Linked DNA regions of Homo sapiens: regions 1, 2, 3, 4, 5 and 6 are each linked to region 7. Evidence: promoter capture Hi-C in 16 types of primary human blood cells and fetal thymus (Javierre and others, 2016). All regions are on one chromosome and are shown on one strand. Each heading gives the region's core, a stretch centred on a gene start or on the middle of the fragment in contact. The rest is flanking DNA. Distances are from core to core; before and after follow the strand shown. Region 1 overlaps SDCCAG8 (SHH signaling and ciliogenesis regulator SDCCAG8). Region 2 overlaps SDCCAG8 (SHH signaling and ciliogenesis regulator SDCCAG8). Region 3 overlaps SDCCAG8 (SHH signaling and ciliogenesis regulator SDCCAG8). Region 4 overlaps SDCCAG8 (SHH signaling and ciliogenesis regulator SDCCAG8). Region 5 overlaps SDCCAG8 (SHH signaling and ciliogenesis regulator SDCCAG8). Region 6 overlaps CEP170 (centrosomal protein 170). Region 7 holds the start of ZBTB18 (zinc finger and BTB domain containing 18).

Region 1 (3,267 bases), core at 1-2,500, 720 kb before region 7:
AAACTAAGTAGTGAATACTGTCTTGAGTCTTTCCATTTAACTTACGATTATTACATAATTTTTACTTCAGTTGTATGTTTAAGGGGAGTGAACTAAATTTTCTCTTAGTTATATTTAAGGAAACTTGATTATTATATAGTATTAAACAAAAGATGCCTGTGTGTAATGATATATTCAACATTTCATTTTAGTATTTTGATCTATCATTTGAAGTATTCCAATAATTTTTATCCATGAGCAAATAAGAAATCAGTTAAATTGGATACTTACGTATTTCGTGTAGTATAAACATGATATATAATTGAAAATATTAGAACACTTGGTGTTTCTGGTTCCCTTTTTTAAAATTCTGACTCATCTGTGGCCGTCATCAAGGTTCATTACCTGAATTTTGTCATTGATTAATTAATATGGCTTTAATCATGAAAATTGAAATATGTCAATAAATGTAACATTTGGATACTCTTTTAGGTCAATAAGTGGTATTGATAAACAATAAAAAATTATTCTAATGGGCTTTATAGTGAGTTTTTGCTATTTTAAATATACTTAAAGCTTAATTATGTCATTTTACCTATATTTTTTCCAAATTCTAACCTCCTCTTTCAATCTGTTCTATCCTGGCAGGCTTTAATCCAGTGTGACCAGTTGAGGAAGGAGCTGGAGAGGCAGGCGGAGCGACTTGAAAAAGAACTTGCATCTCAGCAAGAGAAAAGGGCCATTGAGAAAGACATGATGAAAAAGGAAATAACGAAAGAAAGGGAGTACATGGGATCAAAGGTACTTAAGGACTCTGCTGTTATCCACATTGCAGAAGAAAGGTTTTTTATGATGCCATTGATGATTCCATAGGCTGGAGTTCTTGAATGAACTTTAAATTTTAAAATCGTTATTATATAAGTAGTTAAATTTCGTATAATTTAGAATTCATAAAAATGTTTTATCTTTTCATATATTTCTCAATAGTTTATGCTGATCTTTTCAAATAAAATAATCAGTTAGATTCCATACAATGAAATTACAAAATTTACTTTAAATCCTGCCATTCTGTTGGATTCCCTCTCTCGTGTTTCCCAGAGTCGTGCTATGAAGATACCCAGATTTTATTTCAACCTTGGCTAAATCAAGGAGAGATGACTTCCCCTGCATTATCTCCTACCCCTAAATTAAATATGCAGAAGATGAAACACTTGTAAGGAACTGAGTAACCAAGAAAAAGTGATTATGCACTCTGTATGAAATCAGTTCTGACAAATTACATGATGAATAATGACGGTAACCAGATGAAGGGAGAGATTTAAGGCAAAAGGAACAGATAACATGAAACAAGCAGTGTTTGAAAAGGAGTTCACAAACTAGAATACAGAGTTGAGTGGGACCTAGCTTTAAAATTGCTAACTAGACTCGAATTGAGCAAGTTGTGGTCCATCAAGTAACCAAAACAACTGTGTTACATGTTTGTTTTTAAAAGTGGACTCACAGCTTGTACTCTAAATGCTATGTTGTTATCAGATTCAATGTGTGATAATTAACTTATTCAGTAAGTATATACTGAGTATGTGCTGTGTGCAAAGCAATGTGGAGGCCTAAAGATATGTAAAGAGAAAAATCACAACTTCTGCCCTATGAGTTTTAAGTCTTAATAAGAGTAAACTCAGGCATTTCCTGTAAATGTCCTTGTCTTCTTATCCATTTTTAAAAATTGTGTCTGTCAAAACCCTACTACCTACCTTCTCTGCCCTGGATTGGTGATCTCTGCTGGTAAAAATCACACAGCCTTGCAGATGACATGGCTGTAGACTCCAGGTCTTCGGTGTCCACGGTCCTTTCAGTGCTTTCTAGCAGTCCTCTTTTGCCTTCCTCTCTCTTATTCATTCCACACTCAACAGATATTAACCAGAGGGGCTGGGAATGTTGTAGTCACAGGAACGATGCAGTTTCCTCATGAAGCTTACAAACTCGTAGGAGAAGTAGATGTTACACAAATGTTTTCATAAGTGAGTTTTCGATCATCATTGTGATAAAGCCATAAGGTTCGGTTTAGGATATCGTGGGAATGTGTAACAGGAATCTGACCTTGTCTAGGCAGTCACGAAAGACTTTCCTGAGTAAGAGATGTTGAAAATGAGACCTGAAAGCATTGATGAATGGACAGGTGAAGAGGGGAAGAGGGTTTCAGGCCCAGGAATATAACACACCCAAGACTCTGGACCTGGAAAGCATCGCACTTTCTAGGAATTTGGAGAAGGCCCTGATGGGTGGAGCATAGAGAGAGAGGAGCAGAGTAGTGGGAATGAGTTTGGAGAATTATGTTGGGATGGAATCATGAATGGCTTTAAAATCCATATGAAGGATTTTCAATTTTGTCCAAAAAGGGATGGAAAGCCATTGAATGGCTTTGAATTTGTCAGTGTCACGATGCCATTTATATTTGAGAAAAATCATTTTGTCAGTGGATTGGAAGGAGAAGCAGAATAGATGCCTGGAGATCAGCTGGAGGTCATTATCGTAGTCCAGGTCTGGAGGTGACTCACAGTCCAGGTCTGGAGGTGATTATCATAATCCCCCTCTGGAGGTGATTATCATAATCCAGCTCTGGAGGTGATTTTCGCAGTCCAGGTCTGGAGGTGATTATCACGGTCCCGGTCTGGAGGTGATTATTGCTGTCCAGGTCTGCAGGTGATTATTGCGGTCTCAGTCTGGAGGTGATTATCACAGACCCGGTCTGGAGGTGATTATCGCGGTCCCGGTCTGGAGGTGATTATCGCAGTCCAGGTCTGGAGGTGATTTTCGCGGTCCAGGTCTGGAGGTGATTTTCGCGGTCCAGGTCTGGAGGTGATTATTGTGGTCCGGGTCTGGAGGTGATTATCGTGGTCCCGGTCTGGAGGTGGTTATCGTAGTCCAGGTCTGGAGGTGATTATCGTGGTCCCGGTCTGGAGGTGGTTATCGTAGTCCAGGTCTGGAGGTGATTATCGTAGTCCAGGTCTGGAGGTGATTATCGTAGTCCAGGTGGGAAGTGATGGTATCTTAAATGCATTTCTTTAAAGACTGTTTCAAATCACTTGTTCTTCTCAAATTCTCTATAATACCATTTTTCCTCTTATTCTCAGCAGAGAGCCTTACTTAACTAACAAAGAAAATGGAAGCCGTTGGGTGATGACCACCTCAACTATTTCTCTTGTCCATGCCTTAAAATAAATTTTCACCTGTATTCCAACCCAGTCTGAATGGGAAAGGTGTCTTCCTAATCCCTTCCCCTTCCCATGG
Region 2 (3,409 bases), core at 786-3,285, 640 kb before region 7:
TTTGCACAAACTGTCCACTTCACTTGTAATAATCTTCTTTATATTCTTTGTATGGCAGATTACTACTCATATTTTAAGCTTCTGATTTTTTTTAAGCTTCCTGAAATCCTTCCTCCCTGTCCCCAGCTACTCCCCAATTCCTATCCTTTCCACCTGTATCATGGCAGGAATTTAGCCCTACTTTAATATTTACTGTACCATGAGTTGTTTTTTTCCCCAAAACTCGTTTATTTTGTTCACTAGACAATAGACTCTCTGAGGCCAGGGTCTACATCTTGCACACTGATGCATCCCCATACTTTTGTGCTTGGCACAAAGTAGTTGCTTAAGTATTTGTTGAATGGATGCGCAATCCACTGTTTGATTAAACAAACCCATCATGTGAGGCAGTGCCATGGAATGGAAAGAACACTGGACTTGGAGTGAGAAGACAGATTTGGATTCCAGCTTTGCTACTTACTAGCTGCATGGCTTTGAGAAAAATCTCTTAATTCCCGAGTTTGAGACACTTTATCTATCAAACAGGAATATCTGTTCCATCTCTCTGCCCCACAGAGATGTTATGAAGAATAGAGAGGTCGGTGCATTTGAATGTGCCTTTTAAAATAGAAAGTACAGACATGCAAAGGGTGATGCGCTAGTAACTGGAGTTGATAGAGTCTGTGGTTTTGTTTTAAAAGTAGATGGGAATTGTGCATATGTAATAGAAACAGGCAATAGCTAGTCTACTGTATTGTCTTTTGCCTTGAAGGTAAGTTTTCAAATTATTTTGGAGATACTGTAAGAACATTTTTGGAGGGAAAATTATTTTTAGAGATGTTTCTGTTAAATATTTCCTTTCTTTTGTGTATATTCCCTTGAAAGAAGTTGACCTCCTTTCTGTTTCTGCTTTCTTCCCTAGAAGTGACTCATTCTCTGATCTGATAACTCATCTTTCAACATTGTGCTTGAAGTTCTGACATACTTTGCAATGAAGAAAATAGAAGTAATTTACTCCAGGAAATATGCCATTAAGTCTTTTGCATACTTAAGGAAGTAGAGATTCCAGAATCTCATTCCTGTGTTTTCCTTTCTGTTTCTTCTCAGTAGTTCCACATTTGCTCAAATAAGGGAATACAGCCCCTGTTAGCTGTAAATAAGCATAGAATTTTGGGTTCTTCTGAAACATGGAAGACATCATGCTGTCTACCAATTTTATTATTGTTTTTGTTTTGTTTTATTTTCAATAATAATAATAAATTCTTGCAAAAATAGAGATTATCTTATCATATTCTCTGACTGTAGTCAGTAGACAGGATGATACTTACACCTGTGAGGATACTTAGTACTTTCCGTCTTTTAGTAGTTGATCATTCATTCATTCGTTTATTCATTCATGAAATGTTCATTGACCACACAACTGTGTACCAGGCACTATTCCAGATTTTCGGGATAAATTAGTGAGCAAAACAAAGGTTCCTATTCTCCATGGATTTAGATTCCAGATTGATGCACATGTCTTATCTTTTCTAGAGTCTGTGGCCACTTGAGGCAGGAGATGTGTTTGTGGTACCTTTCAATGTTTTTGCAAAGGTGAATATATGTCTTCGAGAAGGACACAACTAATTGATGGTGTCATTGTAGGAGAAAGTAATCCAATAGCTTAGGGGACAACAGGGAAAGAAGAAGGAGAACTAGCTTGGGATTTGGCTGTCAAGATGGATAATATGGCTATTAAATGGCACACTCCCATATAGATAATTGAAATAGACACTTGTTATCCTTTCAACCTTCTCTCATTTCTCTACATCCCTGATAAAAGAAGAGACTGAAGCATAGTGATTCACTGTGGACTTTAGAGTCAGATAGCCCTGGATTTCCTGGCTGTAACCTTTAATAACTAAAGAACTTGGACATACTGTATAACCTCTCTAGGCTCCCATTTTCTTATCTATAAAGTGAAGATACTAAGAGAACCTACTTTATATGGTTGGTATGAGGATTAAATAAAAGAATGCATGTAAAGACCTTAGCTTATGTGTAAACATTAGTAATTAGTAGCTTCTTAAAAGGATTAGTCCTTTAAGGTTGGATTTTCTTTTTGTTCTGCTTGAATGAAGAACCCCAGTATTAAAGGAAGAAAGTTATTAGTCTATAGTCACACAGGTGATAAGGTGGTAGATGCCATACTCTGACCCTCTAGCTCTGTGAGTTTGGCTGTACTCCATTGCCTCTCAAGGTGTCATCTTCCCAGAGCACAAAGAGAATAAACTCAAAAAGTACCTATACATTTGTTTAAAAAACAAGGCAAAACAAAACAAAACTATAAGCAAATATTGAAATCTAGTTACTAGTAGATTTGCTTTCCATAGATTATTAATTTTGAAACTACTTTCTGTGTATTCCAAGTTTGAACAAACAAGTATGTTGAGGATAATAGGAACCAAGTTTCTTACTATTGAGGAAAAAATTACAATTATGGAAAAAAGGGAGACAAGGTTCTATGTATGTTGTTGGATTGTAATTGGAAAGACCAGTATGAATGTGTATGCATATATTCATATAGGATACAGACAAATATTTATATTTATATTCACATTTATACACTTACATGTATATTCATATCCAGACTTAGTCCACCAAGGTGACCTAGAAGCAATGATTTTGCAGTAGCAGTGAGCACCACCTAGTGACAGATCCTGATTTCTAAATACCATTCTCCATTAAAGGCACAAAAACAGCTCCTTGGTCAAATGCTGATTCCAAGACTGGTACAAGGACATTACAAGATGAGCCTGCAACATTTTGTGGAGATAGAAAGCCACGTGAACAATAGAGACATGTCACGTAGGAACCACCTTGAAAGGGTTCCCCCTGGCCAAATCCAGGATAAATTGAGCATAAAAATAATAATCATAATGGATTATAACCCACTGAATAAGATATGAATCCATGACTCCATGCTGATATTAATGAATTAATAAATGAGAGAGAAGGGAAAGCTCTTTCTTATAATACAATGTTAACTAAAAAATAGAGAAAGAATAATGGAGTAAAAAAGTCATTTTTGGATGTAAAACTATTAGATGAGAGCTCGATGAAGAATAGGATGTTTGCATAGTCTAGGCATCTCCCAACAAATTACCTCTTACTTATTAGGTTGGAGCAAAAGTATTGTGATTTTTGCCATTAAAAGTAATTACTTTTGTGCCAACCTGATACAGAGAGGAAAGGAGTAACTTTACAGTAGAGAGGCCTGGGACAGCTCACCTAACTGCTGTTTTGCTGAGTCTGACTTGTACCAGCCCATGAGAGCCAATTATGTGTATTTCTTCCCAACTTGGTATTCAGTGATGTCACTTTGGTAGCTGAAAATAGAGCATGGTGGAAGTGTCTACACTGAAAATTGGTGAATACTACCAAAGAGGGA
Region 3 (3,722 bases), core at 182-2,681, 660 kb before region 7:
ATGTATTCATCTTAGGCCAGGGGCGGTGGCTTATGCCGCTCATATGACTACCATTTATACACACGTGGTTGGGTTAATTTACGATATGGCTGAATAAAGCAACCACTTCTTACCGTTTATGTGATTCTTATTAACTGCTTACTGAGACATTCTTTTCCATACCTTTTGCCCATGTACTGAAACACATTTTTTTAAATCCTGCATTTTTTTTTTCTTGTATCTGATCTTGAGGGGAACTACTGCAGGAAGCTTTCTTTTGTTTATTATCCAGAGAATTTAGAACTCGGATTGCCCTAAGTACAAAACCTTAAAAATTCTTATTTCTCCTTTTACATAAATGATCTTTTTAATAATATGTATGTACTTCAAAGAATTTCTCAGAGCAGGAATCTAAGTGAGAGTCCACCAAACAGGTATTATACTGTGACCTACTTTTGTGATCCAGATGGGAAGATCTGACCTGTGACCTAGAGAGACAGCAACTTGACCTATAGGATTTGTGTCTTTTTGAAAGTGAGAAAAGGGTACAGCAGAGGAGTCACTAGGTTAACCTGTTATGATGGATAGATCATGTGGGGAGAGTGATAGAGGCTGCCTTTCCAGGGCTTTCAGTTTCCACATAGTAACTAGTACAGTTACTTATTTGTTTCTTTAATTTGAAGCAAGAGTCTTGCTCTGTTGCCCAGCCTGCAGTGCAGTGGTGTGGTCTTGGCTCACTACAACCTCTGCCTCCCAGGTCCAAGCAATTCTCGTGTCTCACCCTCCCAAGTAGCTGGGATTACAGGTAGGCACCACCATGCCTGGCTAATTTTTGTATTTTTAGTAGAGACGGGGTTTCACCATGTTGGCCAGACTGGTCTCAAACTCCTGACCTCTGGTGATCTGCCTGCCTTAGCCTCCCAAAGTGCTAGGATTACAGGTGTGAGCCACTGTGCCCGGCCTCTAGTACAGATATTTTCTTGAAATTAATTGTTTGACCTCCCAGCCTATCCATACGAGTCAGGACTTTTTGGGTGAACTGAAATCCAAAAAGGAGAAATTGATAAATTTTTATAACTAGACCATGTACAATCCAGGTGCAGCTGGACTCAGGGTTTCCTGGAGCCAGCATGCTATCATATTCTAACTTTCCAGAACAGGGCTCAATTTCTATCTGAATTTTGCTAATTCTTTCAGATTCTTTCATACCATGAAGTAAAACATCTTTCATTCTGAAATTGATGATAAAGGAAATACCTTTGATTTCAAACTGTAAGAATGTGACTTCCTAGCTCCTTCACTTCCAATTTCAAAACCTTTGGTTAGGATCACCCTTGGGCACACACACGCACTTTTGGGTGCTGTGGCTGGTAGCCTCTTCAGAACCACATGGAATAAGGGAAGAAAGTTTCACTAAGTAAGGGGAAGTGCTCTTACTAGGGGAAAGGTGTCAGGGATCCTGGGTGAGTAAAACACCAAGTATCTGCACTGTTGCCCTTGTTGTCTTTTTAAAAATATAATCCCTGGTCAGGTGCCATGGCTCATGCCTGTAATCCCAGCACCTTGGGAGGCCAAGGTGGGAGGATCACTTGAGGCCAGGAGGTCAAGACCAGTCTGAGCAACATAATGAGACCCCAGCTCTACCAAAAAAAAAAAAAAAAAATTAAAAAATTAGCCAGGCATGGTTGTGCATGCCTGTAGTCCTAGCTATTTGGGAGGCTACATGGTGGTGCGCGCCTGGGTCCTGGCTACTTGGGAGGCTACGTGGTGGTGCGTGCCTGGGTCCTGGCTATTTGGGAGGCTACATGGTGGTGCATGCCTGAGTCCTGGTTATTTGGGAGGCTACGTGGTGGTGCGTGCCTGAGTCCTGGCTATTTGGGAAGCTACGTGGTGGTGCGTGCCTGAGTCCTGGCTATTTGGGAGGCTACGTGGTGGTGCGTGCCTGAGTCCTGGCTATTTGGGAGGCTACGTGGTGGTGCGTGCCTGTAGTCCTGGCTACTTGGGAAGACTGCTTGAGCCTGGGAGTTTAAGGCTACAGTGAGCTTTGATTGCCATCGCACTCCAGCCTGGGCGACAGAGCGAGACTCTGTCCCCCCTCCCCCCCCCAAAAAAAAAATAATAAATAAAAATGCAAGTCCTGATTTTTCCTCTAAGAAATGGTTTCAAGTGGAGAGAGGGGAGTGAAGTGCACATTTTTGTCCATGTATGTTGGAAAATGATATTCTCCATTGTCAACATGTGATAAGTCCAAAGAGGCATCATCAGTTCTTCACAACAACAGGGTCTCTTTGTTGTTTTACTTAGAAAACTCTTAGAATATAAAAAGAAAGAAGCACAGCTAAATCTCTAGCATGCACATGTATTGTGCTTGGTTTCTGCATAGTGCTGTTCCAGCTGTGGCCCATGATGGCTGCTTGTTAGTGTCTATGGCAAGATAAGTACCGGAATCTACAGAAGTATTTGGCAAATTTTATATCAATTTTAAATTGTCACAATTTTCAAGCGCATGATCAATGAGCTTTTTTTGGGGGAGTATCTTTTAAATTTTTTTCTAGTAATTCATTTTTATTGTGTTTTAAAAAACTATTTGCAAAAGATTAGAAATTAAAACAAATATGCTGATCATTTACCACAAGAAGCTTGAGATGCTATGCTTCTCACTGCTTCCAGCAAGCCTAAGAAAAAACAGTCCTTTATAGATGAGGAAGCCGAGCCTCCGAAGGGGAAGCTTGAGGTTGGGCATCCAGGAGGGAGGAGAGTAGGCAGGGGATGAAGGGCAAAAGCTTGTTTCAAACTGAGATAGAAACACTTTTGGTGTTGTAAAATCTCAGCACCCAGACCAGGAAGCAGGTCTCTTTCATCTCTGTGCCCCCAGCACCAAGTCAGGCACTGGGTGTTTAGCAGATTTTCTATAAACATTGAGTAAAGTTCCCTTTGCTCTTTATTATTGGGAAAATTAAAACAAAAAGTTGGGGGGAACTCATCTTAAGATAACAACAAGCTTAGGTCAAAAAGCCAAACTCATTATCTGTTTATTTGAAGAGGATATTATAACATTGATGTATATTCTTGCTATTTTACAGTGAACTTTATCTTTTTTTTCCTCCTGAGTTTTATTCAAGAATTTTTAGCCTAAAGTTTCCATTTCAAAGTTAAGCTCATTTTTTTCTTGTACTCCTTTCATGAATAAATTAAGCAGAGAATGTGTCAAAAATAATTTTAAATGGATATATGTGCAACCAACATCTTCAAGGCTTGAAATAGATGGCCTTGGTGCTGTTTTAAATTGCGTCCTCTTTTCCTTCCCCCACCCAGTATCAGAGAAAACAGGCTGTCAGAAAGCCAGAAAAGAAAAGGCATTTCATTTTGCTCTGGTGGACACCACACTGCCTGAGCCTGCTCTGCTCCACCTGTTTGAAGGGCTAAGAACCCTGGTCTCAGTGTGGCCCGGGGCGGGAGAGGTTCGAAAGTCAGGCAGTGCCAGGAAATGTGTGTTTGCAGGTTCTGCTTAACGTTCCCTGGCTCGCTCCTCTCAGTTCTGTGAAGCCCAAATGTGAATGCAATGAAAATCTCCACTGGGGATGCACTCATCTCCCCTGCCACATAGGCCCACAGCCTGGAGCATGGTGGCAGCGGCAGCCAACTCATTTCCTGAAGAAGCCCAGAGGAAACCGAGAATGTATTGCCCACACCACTTGCCTGACTCAACAACAATGAGCATCAGGTTCAATGAAAATAGGAAA
Region 4 (3,476 bases), core at 102-2,601, 700 kb before region 7:
CCTATTCCATCTATCTCACTTTTTTCTCTCTACTTCTGTCCTCATCGTCACCTTCATCTTCTTTGTCATGTTTTTTCTGCTCCACCTTCTCATCTTCATCTTCTTCTGTCTTCTTCCTCTACCTCTTTTTCTTCTTTTGCAGAAGTATTTTAAATGGATCTCAGACCTTATGTTATTTTACTCATAAATACCCATGTGGATCTATGAAGGATATTTTTACATACTATGTCATTATCATACCTAACAATGTTAACAATACTTCTTTAATATCAAATAACACCCAGCCTATATTCACATTTCTTTGTCTCAAAAATGTTGATTTTACAGTTGGTTTATTCAAATTAGGAGAACAAGTATGTTTTTGTATGTCCAATTTTCTGGTGTTACCCTTTTTAATAGGAAATAAACAGAACTCTTAGTAAAATTTCATCTTTCTTTGTTGTTGTCTGTTAAATTTTGTACATAATGTTTTGATTATGCTTTATTTTTATAAAATGCCTCATTGTCATTCTAAAGAGGTATAAATTAATCCTACAGCAAAGTATGTGAAGGAAATGGCTACCACGCAGCATTCCTGATAATCATATCCCAAAAGGAGCTTCCTCGCATCCGAAACCCCAAATTCAGCATTAATTTCACAGCCTTGTATTTAAGATTTGGACATGTTGCAGGAGGCCCTAACATGACAAGGATGAGCTGACCTGAAATGAGTGATGCAGAAATAGAGTTTTTTTGTCAACTTCCCTTTTGGTAAATTAATCTGAGAAGACGATTCTTTATAGCCGCTAACCTTTGATTAGGGCCCAGTGCAAAGTGAAAATACAGGACCCTTTTGTTCAGAAAGCAGGAAAGAAGTGATATTAAAAAGAACTAAAATATAAAACATTTTCCTTTCTTCTTCAGTCTCTCTCTCCTTGCCCCTCCTCCCTCACCAACCCAGGCTGGACATGCATTTTTTTTTTTTTTCTTTTTTTTTTTTTTTTAGGACGGAGTCTCCCTCTGTCGCCCAGGCTGGAGTGCAGTGGCGCGATCTCGGCTCACTGCAAGCTCCGCCTCCCGGGTTCATGCCATTCTCCCGCCTCAGCCTCCCGAGTAGCTGGGACCACAGGCGCCCACGACCACGCCCGGCTAATTTTTTTTTTTTTTTTTTTTTGTATTTTTAGTAGAGACGGGGTTTCGCCGTGTTAGCCAGGATGGTCTCGATCTCCTGACCTCTTGATCCGCCGGCCTCGGCCTCCCAAAGTGCTGGGATTACAGGCATGAGCCACCGCGCCCGGCCTGGGGCGGGAATTCTTACCTCCCTGTCCAGCTCTAAGATGGCAGGGATGGGCACACTTGACTCAATCCTCTCTAAACACACATTCAGGATTCTGCCAGGGGCAAAAGACACAGGAGAACACACACCTCCCCCAGTGACATACGCACCTCCCCCAGTGCCCTGGTCCCACCCTAGGTGGAGGGACCCACCCCAGCAGCAGGGCAGGGCGGGATAGAGGAAGCTGGAGAGGAGTATATTTCTGAGAACTGCGTAGGGCTGCAGTGAGGCAGTGGAAAGATGAGACCACATACAGGAGTTCAGTCTCCATTGTTCCATCAGAGTACACCTACAAAACACAATTCTAGCCGGGCGTGGTGGCTCACGCCTGTAATCCCAGCGCTTTGGGAGGCCGAGGTGGCGGATCACCTGAGGTCGGGAGTTTGAGACCAGCCTGACCAATATGGAGAAACCCCGTCTCTACTAAAAATACAAAAAAAAAAAAAAAAAATTAGCCGGACATGATGGCACATGCCTGTAATCCCAGCTACTCAGGAGGGTGAGGCAGGAGAATTGCTTGAACCCAGGAGGCGGACGTTGTGGTGAGCCGAGATCACGCCACTGCACTCCAGCCTGGGCAACAAGAGCGAAACCCTGTCTTGGATAAAAACAAAACAAACAAAACAAAAAAAAAAAAACACAATTCTAAGATACAATTGCTAATAATTTCAAGACATTGACCACAGAGTATTAAACTGCAAGTGTAAGGACCCTTCTGAACAGCACATGTGTGACTGCACTGATCACGTGCCCAAGAAACTGCCATAACCAGGGGGATGGGCAAATGGAGATTTTGCATACTAATATATGTGTATATATCCCCACTCACATATACAGACACATATGCATATTCAATATGCTAATGTGCCCAGTATTCATAAAAAAGTGTTAGCCAACTACAGCTCATAGGTCAAGTCTGGCCTGCTGTCTATGTTACAAATAAAGTTTTATTAGAACTCAGCCATACCTACTCATATATGTATCACCTATTGCTACTTCCTGCAACAACAGCAGAGTTGAGGAGTTGTGGTAGAGACCATATAGCCCACAAAGCCTAAAATATTTACTGTCTGACCCTTTACAGAAAAAGTTGCCAATCCCTACCTTGAGTATAGAAATACAACTGTATTTTTTAAGTTTCCTCTGACTTACTAGGATGCTGAGCTTTGAGTTTGAAGACCCATGTATCTTAAATAATAACAATGGTTTTAGAGTATTTTGCAGTATAACAAATGTGCCACATCTTTAGTCTCTTAAAAATCTAATGGCATTACTCAGCGAGTGTATCACTGATAATCATGGCATTTTCTTATTAGTGGCACATGACTTACTAGTGGCTTGGATGGGAGTGTAAATACCGTATGATTTTATATTTACAATTTTGTTTTTAGGTTGGTTCCAATTTTATTTTTCAGAGATAAGAAGGCTGATATAGAAAGCGTCTTTCTTTTTTTTTTTTTACCGGCATTGTATAAATTATAATTTTGGAGTTGTGGCTACTACTGAGTAGAAAACATCAAGTTTGAAATGACTTTAATGGAGCAATCAAAGCAAATATTCAGGGTGGGGTATCTCTGCAAAAGAAATAGATCCAAAAATTTTGGCTGGAAAAATGAGGGCAAAAAAGGATTTGAGGGTTGCTCATATCTACAGCAGTGATTCAGCACTTGGACACTGACATTAAGGATGGAGTGTAAGGACACAGGAATTATCGCCTAAATTCAGTTGAATTAACTAGACTGTTGGAAGAAGTGCATCTATATTGTATGGCTTTGTGTAAGGAGAAGAAGGCCTGCCTGCAAGCCCTAAAAGTCAGTCCTTTTTTCTTTCTTTTTTTTTTTGAGACGGAGTCTCATACTGTCGCCCAGGCTGGAGTGCAGTGGTGCAATCTCGGTTCACTGCAACCTCTGCCTCCCAGGTTCTAGCAATTCTCCTGCCTCAGCCTCCCAAGTAGCTGGGACTATGGGAGCACGCCACCACCCCCAGCTATTTTGTTGTTGTTGTTGTTTTTTAGTAGGGACAGGGTTTTACCGTGTTGCCCAGGCTGGTCTTGAACTCCTGAGCTCAGGCAATCCACCTGCCTCGGCCTCCCAAAGTGCTGGGATTACAGACGTGAGCCACTGCGCCCGGCCTATGTCAGTCCTTTTTAAAGTTAGAGAAA
Region 5 (3,271 bases), core at 115-2,614, 780 kb before region 7:
AATTATAATTGTAGCCCTACTTTGTAATATTTTTTAAATTTTGAGTGTCAAAATAATACATTTTATTTTTAATTAATTAATTAATTTTTTTGAGACAGAGTCTCATTCTGTTGCTCAGGCTAGAGTGCAGTGGCATGATCTCGCCTCACTACAACCTCTGCCTCCCTGGTTCAAGCGATTCTCCTGCCTCAGCCTCCCTAGTATTTGGGTTTACAGATGTGCACTACCACACCAGGCTAATTTTTTGTATTTTTAGTAGAGATGGGGTTTCACCATATTGGCTAGGCTGGTCTCGAACTCTGAACCTCAGGAAATCCATCAGCCTCGGCCTCCCAAAGCACCGGGATTATAGGTGTGAGCCACCGCGCCTGGCCTCAAAATAATACGTTTTAATATGTAATGTTCTATATGTTAAAATATATGGTTATAAAATAGTATGATATATAAGAAGTGGTGCTGTATTTCTTCTGAAGTTGTTTGTTATTGCTTTGACAGAGTGTATTATTTCTGATTAAAGCATTTTATATGCTAAAGGCTGAGATAGATGTGAGTGAAAGCACTCTGGACCAGATTTAAGTGGACAAAATAATAGTCAAGGGCTTAGTTCTATCTAGGGTCTATCACATACTCTCTAAGATATTGTGCCTGTCTCACAGAGTTTTTGGAATAATGAGATAAGATTACATACTTAAAATTCTTTAGAAACCTATGAAGTGTTACATAAACATAACATGCATAGCAGCAAGTAACCACCTCACATTTTCAATGTGTTTTCTAGTTCAATACAATGCCTGTATGCTGAAAAGTGTGGAGACATGTCACTTTCTTTTCTTCACCACTGAAATATCAGAGTATCACTCCCATACGAACACTCCATTCCAGGCTGACACATACTTTTAAGCTTAATTCCTACTTTAGAGAAATGTACTTCATATGCATATTCTAAATTTATAGATACAGATTTTATAATTTTAGTAAAACATCTCATCATTTAATGAATTTATTACTATTGACATCTGGTTTCTAGCTTGCTCTTAAGCACAGACTGGTGGAATGCTTTTAAATCTACTAGATGAAGTTGCTTTATCTGTTGAATGCTCAGACATGCTTATTTGCCTTTTAAAGTCTGAGCAGTGATATTATGGAGCTTACTGAATCCAGACAGGCAGGAAGACCTTCACTAAGAGAATCAGTTTAGTACATACAGAGTGCACTTTAAAATACACAAGTCTATTTATATGGAGCTATGTAAAAGAATGGAACTTAGACTCTATATGTATACAGCCTACATGTAATAATTATAAACCATAATAGTAATAATTAGCTTTTTAAGATTATACCTTTAGAATGCACTTTCATAGCCAGTATAACATATTAGAAATACATGCATATATTGAGAGTAAAACTGAGGCACTGTTGAGATGGAAAAAAAGTTATTACTTATTGTCTTAAAATGTAGATATCTAAACTAAAGCCCTTCAAAGTAGACACAAATGATTTCATGTGAACATTTTTCATACAATATTGGCTTGAGCTTTTTATTTTTCACATTGACTTCCTCCTGTATACTCATAGTAGTAATTTATATTTGCCTATCTTCTGAACCTATTGCTATTAATGGAGGATGATTATAATTGTTTGATTTCTACTCAGGACAGATAATTCATTTAATTAGAGTTACTTTGGTTTTTAAATTTCTTAAATATACCAAAAAACCAAAGCTCTATTTTATTTTATTCTGCCATGATAGCTGGTACTTGATTATCATTTAAAATGTCTGCTGTGCTGAGAAAGAGAGTGGCTGAGAAACAGACACTGTGCCTCATTTCAAGCTTTCCTCTGGCTTTGTTTAACTGGTTGACCCTTGTTTTACCTTTTCCTGATTTCCTCATCCTTTAAAAAAAAAATTATGTGATGGGTATATGATTTTACAAACTATTTTAGGATAAGGTAAGCTATACATTAACAGTCAGTTCCAGGAATGCTACAGAGCTAAAATAGCATTAGCGTTTTTTTGAAATCTCTTCGTTGGACCCCTCAATGCAGTGTGTCTCTACTTTAGGGTTCTACTCTTGGAGGTTCTATGCTCCAGAACACCATACACTTGAATTGCCTTCAATACTAGAGCCAAAAATCAAAAACTACATTTTGCTAATGTATCTTTTTTGAGATGGAATTTCATCGCATTGACACTGGCTTGGCATCAAACGCTTCCTAAAGAATCTCTCCTTCACGGAGCTGCTGCAGTTTTAGCTAGCAAATCCTCTTCCATGGCAGTTTCTTGGAGAGAGTTGTCCCTTGTATCTCAGCATTACTGAATGGAATGTTGTTTTTCCAATTTGTTAAAATAGTTTATTCCAAGCCAGTTATACTACTGCTACCCCAGCATTTTTCCATTCACTATATGTGCTTTTTATAACCACTTTCACCATCCATCTTTAAAAAAAATGATATTCACATCCATGAATCTTGTGTATTTGTGGAATTTATAGGATAGAGAAGCAAGTATTTGTATTAGTCCATTCTCGTGTTGCTAAAAATAAATACCTGAGGCTGGGTAATTTATTTAAAAAAGAGGTTTAATCAGCTCATGGTTCTGCAGGCTGTATAGGAAGTGTGATACTGGCATCTCACTCTGGTGAGGGCCTCAGGAAACTTTCAGTCATGGTGGAAGGTGAAAGGGGAGCAGGCATTTCATGTGGTGAGAGCCAGAGCAAGAAGTGGGAGAGGTGTCACATTCTTTTAAACAACCAAATCTCACCAAAACTCAGAGCAAGAACTCATTATCATGAGGATAGCACCAAGATTCATTCATCATGACCGAAACACCTCCCACCAGGCCCCACCTCCAATGCTGGGGGCCACATTTCAACTTGAGGTTTGTGGGGGACAAGCATCCAAACTATATCAAGACTATAAGCTACATTGTGATCGATTCTATGTTTATATCACATCAGTGCAAAATTGAGTATGGAGAAGGTAACAACTGATTCTTTGCTAAATCCAAACATGCTTAATTTGGCTTTTTAAAATTTATGTATTTATGTATTTATTTATTTATTTTTTGTCATAGAGGTCATTAGAACATGAGGAAACCAATATGCCTACTATGCACGACCTTGTTCATACTATTAATGACCAGTCTCAATATATTCATCATTTAGAGGCAGAAGTTAAGTTCTGCAAGGTAAGTTTCTCATTAAGAATTTAAAACTAAATAAATGAAAGCTTATATTAACTATAGATTGTATTAAAATTTGCTGCTATAAAT
Region 6 (3,584 bases), core at 980-3,479, 800 kb before region 7:
TTTTAGTAGAGACGGGGTTTCACCATGTTGGCCAGGCTGGTCTCGAACTCCTGACCTCAGGTGATCCACCCGCTTCGGCCTCCCAAAGTGCTGGGACTACAGGCGTGAGCCACCGCGCCTGCCCTGGTTGTTCTTATCCTCTTTCTAGCCCTTTTCTCTACCCTCAAGAATATTATAAAATGATGTGCGAAACTGCCTATCGGGATAGAGTGCATAGGAAGTAAAAAACTATTCCTACAGACTCAAAATGAAAAATATTTTTATTTGCCAACATAGTTCTTCAAATCTAACACTATCAAGTTGGTACCACACTTGGGGCAATAAGGGAAGGAGACCCCTATCTGCAATTATACCTTTCATTTGGTTTTTACATCTACCTCGTTTGGCTACCACAATAAACCTCTGAGGTAGCTGGACTATCACTAGCTTCCTGATAAATTCTTCCTATGAAACAGCATCGCTTCTCCTGTTCAAACATCAGAGGCAGCAGCAGCTGCCATACTCATCCACGTAGGAAACAGCATTGGCCTCTTTATGAGTAAAACTTTGTTCAGGGCTTTAGATTTAGTAGTTGCCAGGGGAGAATAACTGTGAACATTCATGTTGATAAACCAGATTTAAAAAAGGAAATTGCTTTCTCAGAGACCATTCAGAAAGAAAGAGGATACTGCCTGATTTCTTATGAAGTATTTAGGTGATTAAAGGTGATACAGGGGACTGATCACTCCTTATCTCTAAAAATACTTCCTTTACTTGGCTTGTGGGACAACACACTCTTCAGTTTCCTCACACCCCACTGTCCACTTTTCAATCCTCCTCGATGGCGCCTTCTCTTTTGCTCAGCTTTCCATGTGGAAAGTACCAATTCTCAATTCTTGGATCTCTTCTCAGTCTAACTCCCTAGCCAAGAGATCCCTTTAAGTCTACTGGTGATGCTTAACATTTAACTATCCTCAGTCCAAACCTCTCCTCTGAATGCTTGACTTACATATCTAACTGCCTACCTGATGTGTCCACTTGGGCGTTTAACAGACACTTCAAACTTAACATATCCAAAACATTTGACTCTCTAAAGCCAGAAACTAGTAACTTTCACTATTGCCACTACTGTCGCTCTAGTCTAAGCCATTAATGTCTCTTAAACCAGATCATTCCAATCATTTCCTAGCTTATCTCATGGTTCCCAGTGTTTTAAAGAATTCCCAGAGCCATTCTTTAAAAATATAACCCAATTTTTTGGCTTTGCTCAAAATCCTCCAATGAATGCTCATAGCACTTAAAATCAATGAATAAAATCTCTATGCAACCTCATTTCCTCCTATAAGCACCTTTTCCTCACTCACCTTCAGCCACAGTGTTCTCCAAATTCACTTATCCCATTCCTGCCTCAGAACCACCGCACCTGAGTAGAATACTCTCCACTCAGATACCTACAAGATGCTTCCTTACCTAATGCAAGTTCTCTGCTAAATGTCACCTCAGAAAGAGGGATTCCCTAACCACTCTAAGATAGTTCTCAAGGTGTAGCATAGTGGATAAAGAGGCTATTTTTTTGTGTCATAGAGGGGACACAAAATATGTATTTATATTTGCTTGAGGTGAAGAAAAATTCATGGCCAGGCGTGGTGGTTCATGCCTGTAATACTAGAACTTTGGGAGGCTGAGGAAAGAGGATCACTTAAGCTCAGGAATTCAAGACCAGCCTTGGCAACATAGTGAGACCTCATCTCTACAAAAAATTAGCTGGGCATGGTGGCGCACACTTGTAGTCCCAGCTACTCAACAGGCTGAGGTGGGAGTATTGCTTAAGCCCAGCGGGTCAAGGCTGCAATGAGCTGGGATCCTGCCCCTGTACCCCATCCTGGGCGACAGAACAAGACTCTGTCTCAAAATAAATAAATAAATAAATAAATAAATAAATAAATAAAGTTCATTGAAGAATACATAAGAAATAATAAAAATAGCTACTTACTGGATTGGCAAAAGTGGTAACTCAGCAGATAAGATGTAGGGTGAAAAGGTTTTTCATATTATTTCTTTTCAAAATATTATTTGAAAACTACCTGAATGAACACTTGAAAACAAATGTAAAACAGCAGTCCTCTACCACTGTCTCTTTACCTTGATTAATTTTTCTTCATAGCATCTATCCTTACTTGACTTTACATCGTAAAAGAATTATCCATATCCTCCAGTATATTGTAAACTTCATCTAATTCCTTTACTGCTGGAGGATATAATGGTTTTCTCTTTAATTTAAAAAACAAAACAAGGCCAGGCGCCATGGCTCACACCTGTAATCCCAGCACTTTCAGAGGCCTAGGCAGTGGACCATGAGGTCAGGAGATCAAGATCATCCTGGCCAACATGGTGAAACCCTGTCTTTACTAAAATACAAAAAATTAGCCGGGCGTGCCTGTAGTCCCGGCTACTCGGGAGGCCGAGGCAGGGGAATAGCTTGAATCCAGGAGGCAGACGTTGTAGTAAGCCGAGACTGAGCCACTGCACTCCAGCCTGGCGAGAGAGCAAGACTCCGTCTCAAAAAAACAAAAACAAAAACAAACAAAAAGGCCCCAAAAACAAACAAACAAAAAAAACCCATCCGAATGGTTTTCATTATTTTTGTGTCACCTTTCCTCCCAGCATCTTTTATTTATGTAACATTCATTCTATTTATAAATGTGCATGGCTTTGTCCTTGGCTATATTAAGTATATGGCCAGGATGGAGACATAAGAGTTTGGCTTGTTGAATTTATAAATGTCAAAAAGCCAGGAAGGAAAGCTAATCCCTTGGATGACAGAATCATGATTCAAGAAGATCTCAAGTTTTAACTATAGCTACGTTCACGGAGATGAAATTTAATAGGAGGCAATGGTAAAATACTGGTTTAAAAACATCACCTGTGTGTTTATACACAATGGGAGAAATCTAGCTAAGTGTAAAAATGTTGGTTTATGTTGACTACATCAGTGGTTTCCAGACCAATTTTTCAGAAAACAAATTAAGAATCAACATAAGGCTGCCAACTTTTTATTGGTTAATCAGGAACACTAAAATAAAACAAAACCCCATGACCAACATCAAAAGAAACTTAACCTATCATTACTTAATAGGTGTTACTAACACTATCATTTAATAAAGGCCATTTATGAACATTAGAAAAGGAGAACAAAATCTCAAAAAATAGTACCTTGAATTACATAAATATAACTTGAAAAGCCATGTAACATTTCTCTCTCTCTCTCTGCTTTTTGCTTTGAATTAGCAGAGATGACTGTTGTTAAAGAGTTGATACAATTTTAGACTTTAAACACAAGTGTATGGCTTGAAATAAGGAAAGGGACAATTTCACTGCACTTTGCATTCAGACCATAACTGCAGAATTAAATATGGAAACAAGATCAGAACACAAAGAATAGCACTGACAAAACTGATTGAATCCAGCTGAGAGATGTGAGGGATGGCAAAGGAAACCATATGAAGTTGGAGGTGTCCTAACATTTAGACAAGAGAAAATCTAGCTAATATATTGAGAAAAACCTTACTTCATCTTACTCCTAAAGACTGAATTGCAACCAGTGG
Region 7 (3,192 bases), core at 253-2,752:
AAAAACAAAACCCCAACCTCACAAAACCTCTATGGATCCGCGGTAGCGAGACGTGAAGGGGTTGATTTGTGGAGTGGGAGTTGCTGGCCCATTGCGGTGCCCGGGACTCATTAAACTGTCACTCACCCCCCACCCCACTGGGTAAATGGGGTGATTAATGTCTGATATATTGGAATGGGTCGAGGGCATTTGTGGAGAATAGGTGGTGTGGCTGGGAAGAAATTGATCTCCCGAGGATGTCTCCTGGACTAAGTGTTCATAATTATGTCACTCACCGCGAAGTTGGAGAAAGTTAGGTTTGTGACTTTGGGAAAGCGAGAAGGACAGGACGGAGTCGTCGGGTTTTGTTACTCTTTAACTCTCCGCCACGGCTTTCTAATGGGAACGAAGTGGTTATCACCAGGGCTGGGACGCTGGCGCCTCAGGCCCCAGTTCCTTTTCTACCCCTCGCCCTCCCAAGAGTCTGAGGAGATGTATTTGACATTCAGAGATGTCGCAGCACCCTGCCCGGTACCGGTCAGCCCAGCCCGGGTCGCGTTACAGTTTCATCAGCTATTAGAAAAGACCCACAAACTGGCTGAAAAGTTCTCAAACTTACTAGACCTGGCTTCCCCCCACACAAAGATTTTCTTGTGATCATAAACATTAGAGTGACCCCCCCCCAAAGAAAAAAAAGATTGTTAAGGGACACAGATCAAGGGGAAGGCAAGGTTCTGCTTTTTCTGAGCAGAAAGATCAGATATGCAGGTGCAGCATTCATTTTAAGTGACTGGAGCAGGTTGTATCAGTTTATTAATTGGTCTCGTTGAACTGAAGTACTTTCCAGGATTTCAGAAAGTGCAGTTTCAGCTTGTTGGTACCGAGAATTGAAATTTGCATTGACTGTGGCAGTGTAAGAAATTTTTCTGAGAAGGTAGTTGTAGATAAGTAATTACATAAGAGTGAAATAATAAGGTGAACCAGTCTGAAGTAATAGTTCTGAACAAGTCTGCCAACATTTGAGACATGTATACCATTATCTCAGCAGAAAAAAATAAAAAAGTGCGGTAATAATGTTGAAATGGGACTGGAGATGTCAAATGGGTTGGTTTAAAAATATCCCTAAACTGCTTTAGAAACTAAACGTTGGAGTTGAATAAAAGTGAATCTGGATTTCCTGAATAGCACCGTGGCTTGAGTGTGCTGTCAGTATGTAAGCCAGTCCACCAACTTAAGACAGAAGTGTTGCTATTCCATAAATACAGTAGAACTCCATATGCTGAGTTTTTCAATTTCTTCTGTTAGAAAGTTTGGAAAAAAAGGAAGACTTTGAAGTATTTTGTTTATACTAACAGAAGAGAAAAGTTCTCCTAAGAAAAAGCTGGTGGCAGGAGTGTAGAGGAGTAGCATATGGCATTAAAAGGAGCACAGCTGGAGGTAGCATTTCCATCTGAACATGATGTCAGAGCAGCTGACAGCCTGCCATCCCTCAGCCTTTTATTCTAACACACAGACAGGGAGTTAGTGTGTGCGGATCTGTGGTGGAGAAGGTATCTCATTCCTCTCTAACATCATCTCCACTTTGCATCTGTCTCTCTTAGTCTGCTTTTTTTCCACCGATGTAACAGACCTGGAGCCAGCAGGACTCAGAGGAAAGGACTTAATCAGGTTTATGTGTCCTAAAGGTAGGAGTAGCAAGAGATTAGATTGAGCATATTTCTGTTTTGGTGTTTTGTTTATTTAATTTTAAAAATCACATTACTTTTCTAACCCAGTTTAGGAATAATATATGAAATTGAGTATTAAATGAACATCTTACTGGAGTTGAAAGTCTTGAGCTTGTTTAGTTTTAATTTTTTATCCCTTTTACTTGAGCGAGTAAATAACTTTAATACACAAATATTTCAAGTTTTGAAATGTTAAGAAAGGCTTTAAAATGCTGCTTTTGGAAATCACGTTGGATTAAAATGCTTTTTTGTTGTTCACTGCTATTTAGATTTGATTGGGGTGGTGGTGGTGGGGAAATAGTAAACTGGAATCCAGCATTCAAACTTATATGAGAAGATTATTCTAGTTAAGCAGCTAGATTGTTGTATAATTAATTCCTCTGTGAAACTTTATTCTTCAAAACATTGAGCAGCACTACTGAAACATACAGCTGTAGTGCTGTTGAAACTGCAGGTTTTTAAGAAGAAGAAAAAAAAACCAAACTTTTGTCCCCAGGAGAATAGTTTGACTGGTTTCCTCATTTCTCTTTCAAATATATATTTAAGAGATCTTTTATTTCAGCATAACAATAATTATTTGCAGGAGTTTTTGTGTTAGCGACTAATTTAGAACTTGTAGATTTGAGCTGCCTGAATTGGCCAGACAGCTGTAATCGCACTCCTCTATTCTTAATCTCTTTATCTGGGCAGCAGCTGCCATATGGCCACAGTCAGCTGGATCAGATGTTTATAAGCTTCCTTCTTCGTCCCTCTCTGTCCTCTCAGCCTCCTAATTTGATCACGGCTACCTTGTGAGCTGCCCTCCAATCTTTATTTTTAGCCTTCTCAAGGATTAGGATTGATGTTAGCTGTGGGGCACTTAAAGTGATTGTATTGTAAATCTTAGTTTATTCTAGCAGTGGCATCTTGCAGAATGTGTCTGGGGTTAGGATAAAGTTTTAGTCTGTCTTGGGCAAAGTGTAGAAGAACAAGAAGAAAGGAAGTAATTTCTGAATATTAAATTAAGTGTATCTATTCCCAAAATGCACTTGCTGAGATGGGTGGTGTGGAGGCTTGCTTCTGGTCACAGGAAAGGGGAAGTCGGGTCTTCTTTATTTTTCAGGAGTTTACCCACTGCAGTTGAATTCTGACCCTTTGTACATCTTTGCCTTTCTCCTCCCTCCATTTCACTTTCCCTCATCACAAAACAAGGGCAATGATGAATATTTGCAAGAATAGAAGCTAGTGGGAAAACAGAAATATATCAAATTATATTGAAACAAAGTATTTTCTGTTGGCTGAGGTAAGGCAGAACCAGGAAAAAAAAAAAGGTTCTCTTTTTCTAAAAAGGCTTAAAAAAAAACGTTGAACCTGTAAAGCTTTTGAGTTTTATTTAAGCGCTGTATGCCTTTATTTTTAAAAGTTTGAATTAATTTCAATATGAAACTCATTTTGCCTTGCAACGGATCAAAGTTTAGATGAGAATTTTCGGAGTTCAGTAAAGCCC

What was found. Contacts are between HindIII fragments. The CHiCAGO score rates a contact against its expected background, and 5 or more counts as called.
Region 1: a fragment that was not itself captured here is called in contact with the fragment with the promoter of ZBTB18 in region 7 in 1 of 17 cell types (naive B cells); the score reaches 5.4 in naive B cells.
Region 2: a contact is called between a fragment that was not itself captured here and the fragment with the promoter of ZBTB18 in region 7, in 1 of 17 cell types (fetal thymus). The highest score is 5.3, in fetal thymus.
Region 3: a fragment that was not itself captured here is called in contact with the fragment with the promoter of ZBTB18 in region 7 in 1 of 17 cell types (M2 macrophages); the score reaches 6.9 in M2 macrophages.
Region 4: a fragment that was not itself captured here is called in contact with the fragment with the promoter of ZBTB18 in region 7 in 9 of 17 cell types (M0 macrophages, fetal thymus, endothelial precursors and 6 more); the score reaches 9.9 in M0 macrophages.
Region 5: a fragment that was not itself captured here is called in contact with the fragment with the promoter of ZBTB18 in region 7 in 1 of 17 cell types (fetal thymus); the score reaches 5.7 in fetal thymus.
Region 6: a fragment that was not itself captured here is called in contact with the fragment with the promoter of ZBTB18 in region 7 in 1 of 17 cell types (fetal thymus); the score reaches 7.8 in fetal thymus.

What each region holds. Positions count from the first base shown.
Region 1 is chr1:243,329,913-243,333,179 of GRCh38, forward strand. SDCCAG8 (SHH signaling and ciliogenesis regulator SDCCAG8) reads left to right here. Exons shown (of 18, transcript NM_006642.5): 10 at 628-780. Among named protein-coding and RNA genes, the nearest start is that of MIR4677, 15 kb to the right of the region's middle. The HindIII fragment of the contact is 1,395 bases long and covers 554-1,948 here.
Region 2 is chr1:243,406,834-243,410,242 of GRCh38, forward strand. All of the region lies in intron 13 of SDCCAG8 (SHH signaling and ciliogenesis regulator SDCCAG8), which reads left to right. Among named protein-coding and RNA genes, the nearest start is that of MIR4677, 62 kb to the left of the region's middle. The HindIII fragment of the contact is 3,882 bases long and covers 95-3,409 here.
Region 3 is chr1:243,387,075-243,390,796 of GRCh38, forward strand. All of the region lies in intron 13 of SDCCAG8 (SHH signaling and ciliogenesis regulator SDCCAG8), which reads left to right. Among named protein-coding and RNA genes, the nearest start is that of MIR4677, 43 kb to the left of the region's middle. The HindIII fragment of the contact is 2,369 bases long and covers 248-2,616 here.
Region 4 is chr1:243,347,071-243,350,546 of GRCh38, forward strand. All of the region lies in intron 12 of SDCCAG8 (SHH signaling and ciliogenesis regulator SDCCAG8), which reads left to right. Among named protein-coding and RNA genes, the nearest start is that of MIR4677, 2.6 kb to the left of the region's middle. The HindIII fragment of the contact is 6,251 bases long and covers 1-3,476 here.
Region 5 is chr1:243,271,470-243,274,740 of GRCh38, forward strand. SDCCAG8 (SHH signaling and ciliogenesis regulator SDCCAG8) reads left to right here. Exons shown (of 18, transcript NM_006642.5): 4 at 3,074-3,187. Among named protein-coding and RNA genes, the nearest start is that of SDCCAG8, 17 kb to the left of the region's middle. The HindIII fragment of the contact is 931 bases long and covers 900-1,830 here.
Region 6 is chr1:243,247,530-243,251,113 of GRCh38, forward strand. All of the region lies in intron 1 of CEP170 (centrosomal protein 170), which reads right to left. Among named protein-coding and RNA genes, the nearest start is that of CEP170, 6.0 kb to the right of the region's middle. The HindIII fragment of the contact is 5,300 bases long and covers 1-3,584 here.
Region 7 is chr1:244,049,781-244,052,972 of GRCh38, forward strand. ZBTB18 (zinc finger and BTB domain containing 18) reads left to right here and starts at 1,503. Exons shown (of 2, transcript NM_205768.3): 1 at 1,503-1,664. The coding sequence starts at 1,652. RefSeq lists enhancers at 512-561, 2,278-2,779 and a silencer at 742-831. The HindIII fragment of the contact is 5,583 bases long and covers 1-2,438 here.